Regions from separate parts of the Homo sapiens genome. Here region 2 is linked to region 1. Evidence: promoter capture Hi-C in 16 types of primary human blood cells and fetal thymus (Javierre and others, 2016). All regions are on one chromosome and are shown on one strand. The core of a region is centred on a gene start or on the middle of the fragment in contact, and the rest is flanking DNA. Distances in the headings are between cores, read along the strand shown. Region 1 holds the start of CHN2-AS1 (CHN2 antisense RNA 1). Region 2 overlaps CHN2 (chimerin 2).

What was found. Contacts are between HindIII fragments. The CHiCAGO score rates a contact against its expected background, and 5 or more counts as called.
Region 2: a contact is called between a fragment that was not itself captured here and the fragment with the promoter of CHN2-AS1 in region 1, in 6 of 17 cell types (total CD8 T cells, naive CD8 T cells, M2 macrophages and 3 more). The highest score is 9.6, in total CD8 T cells.

Annotation. Positions count from the first base shown.
Region 1 is chr7:29,206,661-29,213,432 of GRCh38, reverse strand. It overlaps CHN2-AS1 (CHN2 antisense RNA 1), which reads left to right and starts at 4,463. Exons shown (of 3, transcript NR_120522.1): 1 at 4,463-4,620. The region is part of intron 1 of CHN2 (chimerin 2); the gene reads right to left. It also overlaps the pseudogene NANOGP4. The HindIII fragment of the contact is 4,492 bases long and covers 4,090-6,772 here.
Region 2 is chr7:29,404,528-29,411,449 of GRCh38, reverse strand. All of the region lies in intron 6 of CHN2 (chimerin 2), which reads right to left. Among named protein-coding and RNA genes, the nearest start is that of PRR15-DT, 160 kb to the left of the region's middle. The HindIII fragment of the contact is 5,269 bases long and covers 1-4,682 here.

The DNA of each region.
Region 1 (6,772 bases), core at 3,214-5,713:
TTTTCTCCGGAAGATCCAATAGGAAAAAAAGAAAGAAACCTCTCTGATTAGGCTCCAACCATACTGTATCCTCCATCAAATTGACTGGATAGGCATAATGGAAGCCAGAACACATGGTTTCCATACAAGAAAAATCCTATCAGGGAGGGGAGGAGGGGAGAGGAAGGATTCAGCCACTACCCAGAGTGAAACTGAGTAATATCAATTTCACTCATCTTCACACATCTTCAGGTTGCGTGTTCGTGGAGTAGTTTAGGAATAAATCCATGGTTTGTGGAGTACTAAAATACCTAGTCATTTGCTTATTACATTAAGGCCTTCCCCTGCAGCTTCCAAGGCAGCCTCCAAGTCACTGGAAGGTGAATTTGGCTGGAACTGCATGCAGGACTGCAGAGATTCCTCTCCACAGTTATAGAAGGGACTGTTCCAGGCCTGATTGTTCCAGGACTGGGTGCACCAGGTCTGAGTGTTCCAGGAGTGGTTGCTCCAGCACTAGATGTTCTGGGTCTGGTTGCTCCAGGATGAATTGTTCCAGGTCTGGTTGCTCCACATTGGAAGGTTCCCAGTCAGGTCACCAGTCATCCCTGGTGGTAGGAAGAGTAGTGGCTGGGGTAGGTAGGTGCTGAGGCCTTCCGAGTCACACCATTGCTATTCTTCGGCCAGTTGTTTTTCTGCCACCTCTTAGATTTCATTCTCTGGTTCTAGAACCAGGTCTTCACCTGTTTGTAGCTGAGGTTCCAGATATTGGAGAGTTCTTGCATCTGCTGGAGGCTAAGGTATTTCTGTCTCTGAAATCTATCATTGAGTACACACAGCTGGGTGGAAGAAAACACAGTTCTGGTCTTCTGTTTCTTGACTGGGACCTCGTCTCCCTTTTTTGGGGCATTATTCTCTGCAGCAATGGGTTGTTTGCCTTTGGGACTGGTGGAAGAATCAGGGCTGTCCTGAATAAGCAGATCCATGGAGGAAGAAGAGGAGAGACAGTCTCCGTGTGAGGCATCTCAGCAGAAGACATTTGCAAGGATGGATAGTTTTCTTCAGGCCCACAAATCACAGCCATAGGTTAAGATTCTTTACAGTCGGATGCTTCGAAGCAAGGCAAGCTTTGCAGACAAGCCAGATCCACACTCATGTTAGTATTGAGGAAGAGGGGGAAAAAATTTAAGAGGTGGACTGGAAAAAAGGTTAAGGCAGCTTTAAGACTTTTCTGGAAGATGTTAGAGAAATATGACTTCCAGAAGCAAAAGTATCAAGAAGTTGGGATGAAGTGAGTTGCCTCCACAATAGCAGGAGGTAACTAGCTCAGTCCAGCCCAGCATTCTTTTTTTAAAAAAGAGTCCCTATCTTTTAGAGATACCATCTGAAATATTTACAGATGAAATGATGCCAAGCCTGGGATTTGCTTCAAAATAATCCTGGGTATGGGATGGAGTGGAAGTGAAACCAGGCTATGATGCGATCATTGTTGAAGTTGGATGGTAAGAGGTTCGTTATAGTTTTCTCTTTACTCTAAATATATTTGAAATGTTCTTTATAAAAAGTTATTAAAATATACATTTGTAATAAAAGCCCACTGTAGGGAAAGACGAAACTTTTAAATGATCATTCAATAAAATAGTGCTACGCAGTGTAGCAAGTTAAAAAAATTAACAAAATCTCCTTGAACATTATGATTAAATAGTACTATGGGCCTATAGGGTGTTCTGTATACCGCAACCATGCCTTGAGCAGGCTAACTGAATCTGCTACATCTTTGGAGTTCTGGACCAATTTCTAATCTGTTTTCCAAAGTGCCCATCACCACTCTAGAGTGGATTCTGAAATCAACTTGTGGGCCCTGATAGTTTTTAGATAAATGAAGAGAAATACAATAGAAAAGACAGTCTCAGAGCACATCATATATAACAGGATGAACTCTCTTTGTGGAACTTCTGTTTCTGTGTGTGTGTGTGTGTGTGTGTGTGTGTGTGTGTGTGTGTGTGCCAACATGCAGCATTTGTGTTTAGTCTAATCTCAACATAATAGCCAGAATGGATCTGTTAAAACCTCAGTCAGGGCCGGGCGCGGTGGCTCACGCCTGTAATCCCAGCACTTTGGGAGGCTGAGGCAGGCGGATCACGAGGTCAGGAGATCGAGACCATCCCGGCTAACATGGTGAAACCCCATCTCTACTAAAAAAAAAAAAATACAAAAAATTAGCTGGGCATGGTGGCAGGCGCCTTTAGTCCCAGCTCCTCAGGAGGCTGAGGCAGGAGAATGGCGTGAACCCGGGAGGCGGAGCTTGCAGTGAGCCGAGATCGCGCCACTGCACTCCAGCCTGGGCGATAGAGCGAGACTCCGTCTCAACAACAACAACAACAACAAAAAAAAAAACAAAACACCTAAGTCAGATCATGCCACTGTCTTCTAGAACCCTCCAGGGACAACCTATCTCAGTGTAAAAGCCAAAGTCCTTAGGGCGGCCTACGAGGCCCTCCATGATCCGCCTCCTCCTCCCTGCCAGTCCTATTTACCCCTTTCTCACTCTACTGGCCTTGTTTCTGTTCCTGGAACACACCAGGTACACTCTCGCATTGGGACTCTGCAGCTGCGGTTCCTTCTGTCTGGAATGTACTTTCTCCAAATATCTGCATGGCTGGCTCCCTCACCATCAAGTGTCACCTTCTCAGTAAAGCCTTCTCTGACCACTAAACTTAACACTCAGACCCCCTTACCCCCAGCATTTCCTGTCTCCCTTCCTGCTTTATTTTTCTCCATAGAACTTATCACCCTCTAATATACCATATAAATTAATAATTAGATATAATTATATATATAAGATACACATTTATATATACAAATTATATATAGTTCCTTTGGTTTATTGTCTGTCTGTATTTAGAAATTCCACAAGGTCCAGAATTTTTGTCTGTTTTGTTCATTGCAGTATCTCTAAAATCTGGAACATGGTAAATAATAAGTACATATGGAATGAAGTATTGGTGTGTGCACGGTGTGTGTGTGGGGTGTGTGTGTGTGCCTGTGTGTGTACGTGCTGGGTTTCATAGTGTAGGTCACATTCCAAAAGGCTTGTATGATACCGCCTTGGAGCATACTTGGACTACCTCTGGGCTTACTAAGAGTGAAGACTGAAAAGCAATTACGGTACAGACACCCAACAGTCCTCATGTCTTACAGGCTGGGTGCCTGGAACAAATGATGCCACTGGTAATTGCTATTTGAAATATGTGTATATGTGAGTGTAACTGATTTACACACAAGAGGGTTGTTCCCTTGGGGGACCACCAAGGCACCATAAATTGGCAAGAGGAAACAGGCAGATCAGAAAAATCATAAAATTTTAAGACCCTCAGAGATGATCTGGGCCAAACTAATAATTCTACACATAAGCATCAAAGTCACAAAATGATAACATAATTTGCCCCTGGACACACAAAAAGTAAATGCTGAGAAAGAACTACCATAGACTTAGGTCACGTGACCCCTCATCCAGTGATCTTTACGCACCCTGGCCCATCACAAAACTGAAAAACAGGAATCTGCTCTCCAAAACCCTCTGCCTGTTCCCTTTTCCTTGGGAATAACCTGAAATTATTTCTCCAATTAGGCACCAATACATTTATTCCACTGGACTTGACCGTTTGTAGGAATCTCTGTTTTAAAAACAAAGAACTGCTAATGATCACTATTTCTCATAAATGAAAGCCTTAAAAATTCCCTCCCATAGCAAGCGGCAGTGGGCTGAATCATCTACTATTATTCCCTGCCTTTCTAATAATATAGTTCCAACTTACATCAGGCGCAGGGATGTTAAAGCCTGTCAAGAATCAAAACCTTCAACCCTCACTGTCCTACTTCTCATTAGAGCTAAAGACTCTATCCAGTTTTAAATTAATGGATTTATATTTTTTTCATAACCATAAAACAAAGTGCTTCAAACCATAAAGCACTAACAAGTGAAAACAACATATGAGTTGTCAGTCATCTTAATGTAGTAGGTTAGCAGAACATTTTTTTCAGGGAGTGATATTATTACTAAGTGAATAGTTGCACTAATTGCTTGGCTCTCAACTAAGACTATAATAAGCTTTTTGACTATGAGAGGCCATGCGTCTTGGAATTCTCAGTGTTTTGTTGGTGGCCTTAGAGACTCTAAGGGCTGAGGACATTCATGACATAATTGTGGCGGATGTTCTTGGTTCCCTCTTCCCCCTTAACAGAACCCTGTTCCGTTCAGGCCTCCTCACCCCTTCAGGAGAGGCTGGACCATCTGCACTCCAGGAAGGGGGTCACAACTGGACTAAGTACATCCAGGGAATCCTATTCCCTTGCCAGTGATTGGTTCACACCTAAGCATATGACAAAGCTGTAGCCAATGAGGCAAGGGGAACTTTGCTGGGGGGTGGGGGTGGGGCAGGTGTGTCTGAGAAAGTCTTTTTTATCTTCCACAGGGTGAGGAGGAAGAGATTTCCCCTTCTCTGTTTCAGATATGATCCCAGGGGACTGCTATTGTCATCTTGACCCTGTAAAGACAGTGAGGCTGAGGACAAGGCCCCCCGACCAAGAGGGCAGCGCTAAGAGAAGGAGACAGAGCCAGATACTGCAGTGTCTACAACCACGGTACCTCAGCACTTTGTTTTAGAGTTTTCTGTATTTGCGGTGAAACGTCCTAATCCTTACAATAATTGCATCCTGGAATGGTCTGGTCAGGATGTGAGGAGGTGTGAATGTGTTATATGTGTTGGTGTTAGCATGAGAAAAGTTTGAGTGAACAGCAGGTCCCAGGAACAGTGAGTCTTTTGTTAGAGATGGCTTAGCCCGTGACATTAGAAAGCAGGAGGAGCAAAGTCTAAAATCTGATATGTCAGGGGAACCGCAGAGGCCAGCGCAAGGCACAATATCATCCCCACGTGTGCTGCTGTCATAGGGTGCCCAGGGTGGCCAGATTTCACCTGAGGGAAGACACAGAACAACAGAGTCACTGTAGCCCGTGCCCACTTCCTCTAGGGGTTGCCAGGAAAACACTCTGAATGAGACCTTAAGGAAGAAGTTCTAGTACTTGCTTTGTCTTCACACTCCCGTGAAGGGGCATTTATTTGTATTTTGTGGGGGTGCCTGTCTCAGGTGTCCTATGGGAAAAAGGAGGAAAGGCCATGAACAACTTGAAGGGGAGCCAGCCATCCTATACATTCACGCAGGCCATTGGATACTGAAGCCTGCCCAAAAAGTGGCTACCCAGGGACTCAGTTCCCCAAAGACGTCTGTCTTTAGCTTCATTAATTCCATGACAGGGCCAATCTTCCTCCAATTAACAGAAAGTTTATCTACCTAGAGGAGTCTCTATACTTGGGAGGAAGAAGAGGACTTTTGCAACAACCTGGCACTCAAAACCAGCAAGTATTAAAAAATGTTCATTGACTAGGTTCCTTACAGTGAACAATACATGGTTCTAGAAAATTTACTATTTATAATCACTCATATTTTCCATGTGATCTGATCAAATGCATTTTTTCTTTACTTGTGTGGGGTAAAAGTAAATACTGTCAGAACCTCTGTGACAGCTACAAGCGTGTAAAATTTAAGTCTTTCTAACAAAGTCTTTGTAGTACAATACCGTGATCTGTTGTGATCAAAGGGTGTCGGTTCTTTGATTAGAAACAACAAAAGAGCCAGCAGATGATATCCTTGGAAACGTCTGTACAAGCATCCATCTAAGTGGGGGCATATGGAGGCAGCCACAGACACATCACTGTGCGAATAATACTCAGGAGCATCAGGCACACAGTAGAGAAACTTGCTTCCTGGATGACTCACACTCTACTTCGAGGCCATAGAGTTGTGGCCAGAGTTTAAAAAGCTGGATAAAAAGCTAATTAACTAGTCATAAGAAATGCACTAATTGCTTTGTCCAGCATTAGCAGAGGGGACCTACTGCTCTCCCTCATTCTTCAGTGAGAAGGAGGGTGCCATGGCCTTTTGGGGATACTGGGGAAGGGAGGCATTTATCTAGTGGAGGCTGAACTAACCAGCCCTAGAGAGCAAGTCTCTATGGAACTATCTGAGAAGGTCAGGGGCTGGCTGCAGAAAAAGATGAATGTGGAAATGAAAAGGGGAAGAGAAGGGGCACCCCCATGTATTGAGCAAGTTATCAGTGAGTAGGGATTGAAATGCCTCCCATCTGATTGCAAGCATCCTGTCCAGGAAGGCCTTAACCTATGGGTTTGTATTTTCTGTTTGCTCACGTTATGACTGATTCACCTTCTCTTTCTTACAATATCAATTTCTATGCTTTCTTAAAGTAATGGCTTTATTGAGCTATAAATCGCACACCCTACAATTTACCTGTTTAAAAGCAAACAATTCAATGACTTTTAGTTTATTCACAGATATGTGTAACTATTAAGTATTACCACAATCAAATTTAGAACAATTTCGTTACCACAAAAAGAACTCATACCTATTAGCAGTCACTCCCCATTTCACTCCAAACCTCTCAGCCGCAGGGGACAACTCATCTACTTTCTGTCTCTAGGATTTGCCTATCTTGAGTGTTCCATATGCGTGGAATCATATAGTATGCAGTCTTTCACTTCTTTCACTTAACATACTGTTTTCCAGGCTCATCCCTGGTGTAGCATGTATACAGCATCGCTTTTTGAGAATCTCCCTGTGGCTCTCCATGTTGAACTCTAGCTTTACTACTTATGTTTCTTCAGTGTTCACTATTCACTCCTGAAATGTGCTTGTGAACCACAAATCAAGGTAAAAAGTC
Region 2 (6,922 bases), core at 799-3,298, 200 kb before region 1:
AGCTACTCACTCTGGGGGTGGGGTGGGGAGACTGCCACATCCTGATGAAATAGACACAAAGATGGTAGCTGGAGAAGCCCAGGAGAGGTAACAAAGAGGGTGATACCCAGTACGAGGCCAAAGAAGGAAAATAATAGGCTCTGCTAAAATTGTGTTTCCTCCTTCCAACCCTCCTTGTTCAATGTCACTTTGAGCTTTGAGTCTTGGTATTTCCTCTGTACGGAGAAGAGAATGAGACCCAGTCGGTGGCTCCTCATTGGCCATATATATCAGAATTGCACCTGCAGAACTGTTTCCTGATGACACAGGCCCTAGGCTTGTGTTGAAGTCTAAATTTAGGTTTGTGTACTTGGTGTGTAGTTGATGTTAAATAGTGATACACAGGTGTTTGGAGATAGAGAAATGTTTATTTGATCTGATTAAAGTAAGAAGGTGGGGAAGGCAAGATTTTAAAAATTTGTTTTAATAAAAAGTAGAAATGGGGAATTTTTAATGTGGCTAGGGAGTAAGGGAGGAGAGTTTAGGGATTTGAGGAGGAAAGTCTGTGTTTTTAAAGTTTTAGATAATATTTTAAATAACTAGAGCATTATATGTAACAGTCATTCTTTAAAAACTTCTCAAATTTATAAATCAAAAGTTCAACTTTTACTATGTCTCACTACTTTCAACTTTTTCTCCCCTTACAAAGGTCTAAAATAATAACACTCTCCTTCAACTTTTTCATCAACTCCTATAACTTTTTCCCTCCAGTTTCTTCAAAAACAAAAATACAAAAAAAGACAAACTCCCCTAATTAGAAAAACAAATCAAAAAAGTCAAGTATAATCTCACATCCCATACTCAACAAAATACCCAATTTAGGTGAGGGGCTAAGACTCCTCAAACAAGAGTCTCTATTTCAACGCTTACCAATTAAAAAACTAAGTGCCAATAGATGACCCACAGACATAATGCAAATATACTCTCCATTTCTCACCTCAAACCTATTTAATTAAAAAAAAACCTTTAATCAAGAGAACCCTAAATACTTATCCAAATTATTGTCTTTTATCTTTTTAACATATCATCCCACCTAGACTAATAAACAAACATTAATATTTTACTCACAGCCAAAAACCACCATATAATTACTAAAAAGACAAAAACAGCTCAATTTCACCTTAAAAATGAAAGTAATCACCCTAAATCTACCAACACTGTTCCTACGATTAAGCCCAACTAAAATATAAACAAGACACTACCCTGTTTTAAACATTATAAAAATTTTCTTCCAGAATAAATTATTTAAAAGTCCCATGATTAAAAAGCCTCGATGAAATTAAAAACATTCAACAACCCCAGAGGGATCCCTAAAATTAAAACTCATATAGACTCAGCCTGTTGTCCCCCCACCGCCTAGTGAGAGCCACTGGGAAGAGCTCTGAGGTCGTGCTCAGGGCAGGCGCTTGGTGGGTCAGGTCCAGAAGAATGCCTCCTCATCATAGCCTGCCCAGTCCCCATAGGTGTACAGCAGTCCCAGGTGACAGCATCATTTACCTCCTGCAGTCAAAGGTGATAAAAGTGGTGGGACAATTCCTCTCAAACACCACTCTGGAGATGTCAAAATATAAACATCTTGAAAAGCTGGGCTCTTCATCAAACTGTGGCCCACCAATGTTTGGGGATCCCCAAGATCCCTTTAGAGAGTCCATGATGTCAAAACTGATTTTATTACAGTAATTGCCTTCTGTGATTGACATTGCAACTAACCTTTAAGAAACTACCACTTGTTGAATTGTGGTCTAGTATATATTTTAAAGCCCACATTTACCTGAAAAGGCTATAAGAACACTCCTCTTTTTTCCAACTACACATCTGTGTGAGGCCAGACTTCTTCCTATACTTCAAATAAAACAATATATCCCAGGTTGAATACAGGAGCAGATGTGAGAAGCCAGCTGTCTTCTTTTAAGCCAGACACTAAAGAGATTTACAAAAATGTAAAAACAATGCCAATATTCTCATCACTTTTTTATTTGGAAAACAGTGTTATTTTTCACAAAAATATGTTATTCATACTAACACATAATAGGTTTATTACTATTATGTTGAAAGAATTAATAAATATTTTAGATTTTTCTATTTTACTTTCTAATACCATAAATATCAAGATTTAACCCACATTAACAGAAGCTCTTTGGGGTCCTCAGTAACTTTAAAGAGTATAGAGGGGTCCTGAGGCCGAGAAGTTTGAGCACTTTTGGACTAGAATTAGATTCCTGGGATGATTTTTACAAGTCCTAGGCCCGCAGAGCTGCCCACGTGCTTATGCAGAGAAGGAGCACAGGCTACAGAACAGACACCCCAAGCCACTGTGTAGCCTGATCTGTGCTATAAAACTTGAGGAAAGTGGGATGACTCAATGGATTCATTGCTGAAAAATTTGTTCTTGCACATTTTCACATCCGTTAGGTTTGGTCCTTTGTGTCATCAGCATGTAACTCTCCTTTCAGCCACAAGATGGCACTATTTGCATAGAAAATACTTTCTCGGGAGCCGTGTCTCTAAATTAGCTGTTTCCTAGAGAGATTTTGGATGGGGACAAGGAGGGTTTGGCGTTTGGCCCATCATATCCCTCCATACGCTGAATGTATTAGGATGACTTTCCTCTTCCGTTCCTCTTTGAAAACACCGATATTGAGGAACTGGTAAAAAGAGATTCTTTCTAATATCCACCCAAAGAAACCACTAGCTGACCCCTGAGAGAGGGACTAACTTTTCCTTGCCCCTTCATTAAATTCTTTAATCCCACTTCAGTTAATTGTTTCCCATCATTTATATTTCAGGCAATAATCTCGGGAAAGGAGTCATGGAAAGGGAGCAAAGCCAAACCCTGAACCAGCACAGGTAACTGTAGCCACCAGAGTTAACTGTGTGAAGAATGTTTCCCCAGAGGACTTCTCACGTGTTGTGTAAAAGTAGAGAAAGAAGGCTAGGGTCTAATTTACAACATAAAAGAGCCTCAGGAATATAAGAGGCATGGGAAGAAGTGAGACAGGTGTCCTTGAAAGAAAATGCTCCAAAATGTCTGATCACCTTTACTCTCGTCTCCCCTTCCATCTAACCCAGGTTCTCAAGCCCTGCACTTGACAATCACCTGAGGAGCCAAAAAAGACCGACAGGTGCCTTTCACCAGTGAAGACTTTGATTCCATAGGCAGGTGGGGTCAAACATGGGCATTTTTAATATATATTTTTTAATTTAATTTATTTTTTTTTTTTGATACTGAGTCTCACTCCGCCGTCCAGGCTGGAGTGCAGTGGTGTGATCTGGGCTCACTACAACCTCCGCCTTCTGAGTTCGGGTGATTCTCCTGTCTCAGCCTCCAGAGTAGCTGGGATTACAGGCATGTGCCACAGTGCCTGGCTAATTTTTTTGTATTTTTAGTAGAGATGGGGTTTCACCATGTTGGCCAGGCTGGTCTTGAACTCCTGACCTCAAGTGATCCGCCAGCCTCTGCCACCCAAAGTGCTGGGATTACAGGCATGAGCCACCAAGCCCGGCCATGGGCATTTTTTTAAAAGCTCCCAGAGTGAGTCCAACCTTCAGTCAGTTTGAGAACCACCAAGCCAACCAAATCAGCAATTGCTCAGACTGAGTGATAAATCCCAAATCATTAGGGAATTCTGGTTTAAAACAATGCTTGGCAAAACCCAGTCTCATGAGCGGATGTAATCTAAGTTAAATCCATTCTCACTGCATCCTATCCCACCCCATTTTATGACTGCGTGCAAGGGCAGCAAGTCGGCTGGTCAGCATCATCAGGGTACCTGTCACCTACTATAATAGCTAAGTTATGCTCATCTTCATTTACCCTTGAATCCTGAGAAAAGACTGGGTATGTCAGTTACATGTTATTTCCAAAGAACCTCCTGCAGAGAAAATCTATAGGTTCTTTAGACCCTGTAATGCAAGTGATCTTTTCCAGCTCCATAATGCTTTCTGCATTAACAATTCAGGTTCTTTCTTTGGCAAATGAATGCACGCCTCTGCTTGGTGAAGGACAATGGGTAACACTATGTTTGAATCTACTGTCCTGAATGAAGTCACCAAGCCTCTCCACCCCCTAGGACCAAGACCCCCTCCACAGTGGCACAGTTGTGGATCCCATCCAAAAAAAAGGCCTCAACAATCTTAACTCTAAGATAGCTGCTGAAAAGCATCCTTTTCTATCCAAGCCTCCTTGGTGTCACTGAAATACTTTCTAAGCTATTGAGCCGGGTGCCTCAGTTTCCTGTCCTGCAAAACAGAAGGGTTGCATGAGATGGTCTCCACGATTCCCCTGCTTCTCCAGACTCCTGCTGCTCCTGATGCTACAAGGAGTTGGTGGCCAGATCTTAGCCCAGTGAAGGAAGGAGCACGTGCTGAGAGACGGTGCGGGAGATGCTGAGGCACCCTCTTGGTGAATTTGAGATACGCTGTTCCTTAGGGTGAATGTGGGGCAATGTGTTACATTTTAAAAGTCACCCATCCATTTTTCATTCAATCAGTGCTTGCTTCACCGAGTGAGGTGGAGGGCGTTAGAATTAGGAAGTAGGCTGAGGAGTAGCCTCTGCCTCCCACTGATCCACCTCTGGGGAAAGAGACAGACATAGAAACCACAGATTTTTAAATGCAGGTGGGAATCAGAACTGCCTAAAGCTTAAAACACACATTGGCGGAGGGCACCCCAGAGTCCCCCACACAGTGGCTCCTGGGAACGTGCATTTCTAACCAGCCTCCCAGCTGATGTTGATGCTGCTGGTTCCCGAGGGCCATGCTTTGAGAACCACTGATCAAAACAATGACGCTGGACACAGGGTGATGAACTCTCATAAAGGTGGTGTGCAGCATGCCAGGGCGGGGAGGGGAGGGGAGGCTGAGTGTGGCAGGTTCTATTCAATAGTAGAAAAGGACAGCTGCACTGGACTCCACAGGCTGCCAGGGATGCCCATGGCACCCACCTAGCTCTCCAGCATGCCTGGCCTGGAACTGGGGAGAATGTTAACAGCTCACAGGTACCCCTCAACCAAGAGGGGACAGGAGGTGATGCGTTAAACACTCCCACTTCAATTCCTCTTAGAAGCAGTTCTACCCGGCTCCTGAGAAGGTGATCAGCTCCACAACGTGCATATACCAGCCTCTCTCCTCCTCTATTTACCTGCCCAGCTTCTCCTCCTCTCCCTGGGATGCCTTTCCAAATTCCCCATCTGTACCAAACCCCAGTCTCAGGCTTTGCTTCTCCAAGGGGCCCAGGCTTAAACAGGCTGCAAATTTCCTGTAAGGAATTTGAACTCTGTCCTAGAGAAAAAGCAAATAAGAGCTGTTGCAGAATTACAGCAACAACAATAACACTCTGATGAGCACAGAGTCACCACGGGGACACCAGCCATGAGATGCGAGCATGGCACTGGGGAGAACCACTCGGGACAGGCTCAACCTTGTATGAAGACTTCTGCCAGTAAGCGAGGGCTGGACATTCACTCCTTGGCCTGGCCACGGCCTCTGTTCAAGCACATTGTAGGGAATCATTCCTAGGCAAAGATACCGGGACAGGCCAGCAGATCACATGATGGAAACAGTGAAACAACCAATGAAAGGACCACCTTGGATATAAAGGCGGGCAGCTGGGAAGGAAGAAAATAATTTAGAAAGAAAAAACAAACAAACAAACAAAACGCTGAGTGGGAGACAAGAGGGGAGAGGTTGTTCTCTGATGAAACAGTTCATCTGTAAAGGACAACCCAGTAAGGTTGGAAGGCCTTCAGTCCAGAAAAGGTAACTCTCTTTGGTTTTGCAGGAAGAAAGTAGAAACCAAAGAGGGCTTCGGTGCCTGCCCTAAGAAAGCAAGAGGACTCTGGGAGTTGGCTTGGCAGCAGTTTGAGAAAGGCGTGGTGATGGTGGGGTGGTTAATGGGAGGAGAGCTGGGGAGGGTCCCAGAGGGCACAGCTGAGGGGTCTGTGTGTCAGGGGAGGCAATGCCAGGAAGGAAGAAAGCAGCAGCCAATCCACTGCCAGGGGCAGACACACTGCACTGTAGTTAATGATGTGCGCCCTGTGCTATCATTACGCTCTCCCAGCTCCAACCTTTAGTAAAACTCTGCTAAACACAGACTCTTCGTTAAAGACCCCATGGAGAAATGAAAGTGTCCTATCAGCATCGGGTTGAGCTGAGAAGAAACAGCCTGGGTGCAGAGTGTTGGAACTGCCGTGTGTGTGTGTGTGTGTGTGTGTGTGTGTGTGTGTGTGTGTGTGTGTGTGTGTGTGTATGGTGACATAAGCACTCCATACAGAGAATGTTTCTTTATTCAGGGTATGCTTTAATGTATGTGAATTTAATACACAGCGCATTATTTTCTCTTATTTAAATTTTTAAATAGGGCACTGCATCGATCACGGTTTAAAATTCCAAGAGTCTGAAAGAGTAGCAGGGAAAAATCTCCTTCCACACTGTACCCCTCAGACACCCACTTCCCTTCTTCAAAGGCAATCAGTGATACTGGCTCTTGCATCCTTCAAGGGATATTTATGACTTTGCATGAAAAAAATATATGCTAAAGCTTTTTTTGGCTGGATGCGGTGGCTCGTACCTGTAATCCCAGCTACTTGGGAGGCTGAGATGGGAGGATCGCTTGAGCCCACGAGTTTGAGACCAGCCTGGGCAATAAAGTGAGATCCTGTCTTTAAAAAATAATAAATACATACAATTTTAAAATAAAAATCAATAAAAATATTTTTTTCTACTAGTTTACTCAAATAATACCATACTCCACACACCACACTGCTAGGTACTTTTCCATATAACGATTCCAAGTGCCCATTCCACATCAGCCCATATGAGGGTTCTCATTCATTCCTTTCCTGGGGTTGTGTGATATTCCTTAACATGGATGTACCATAATCCA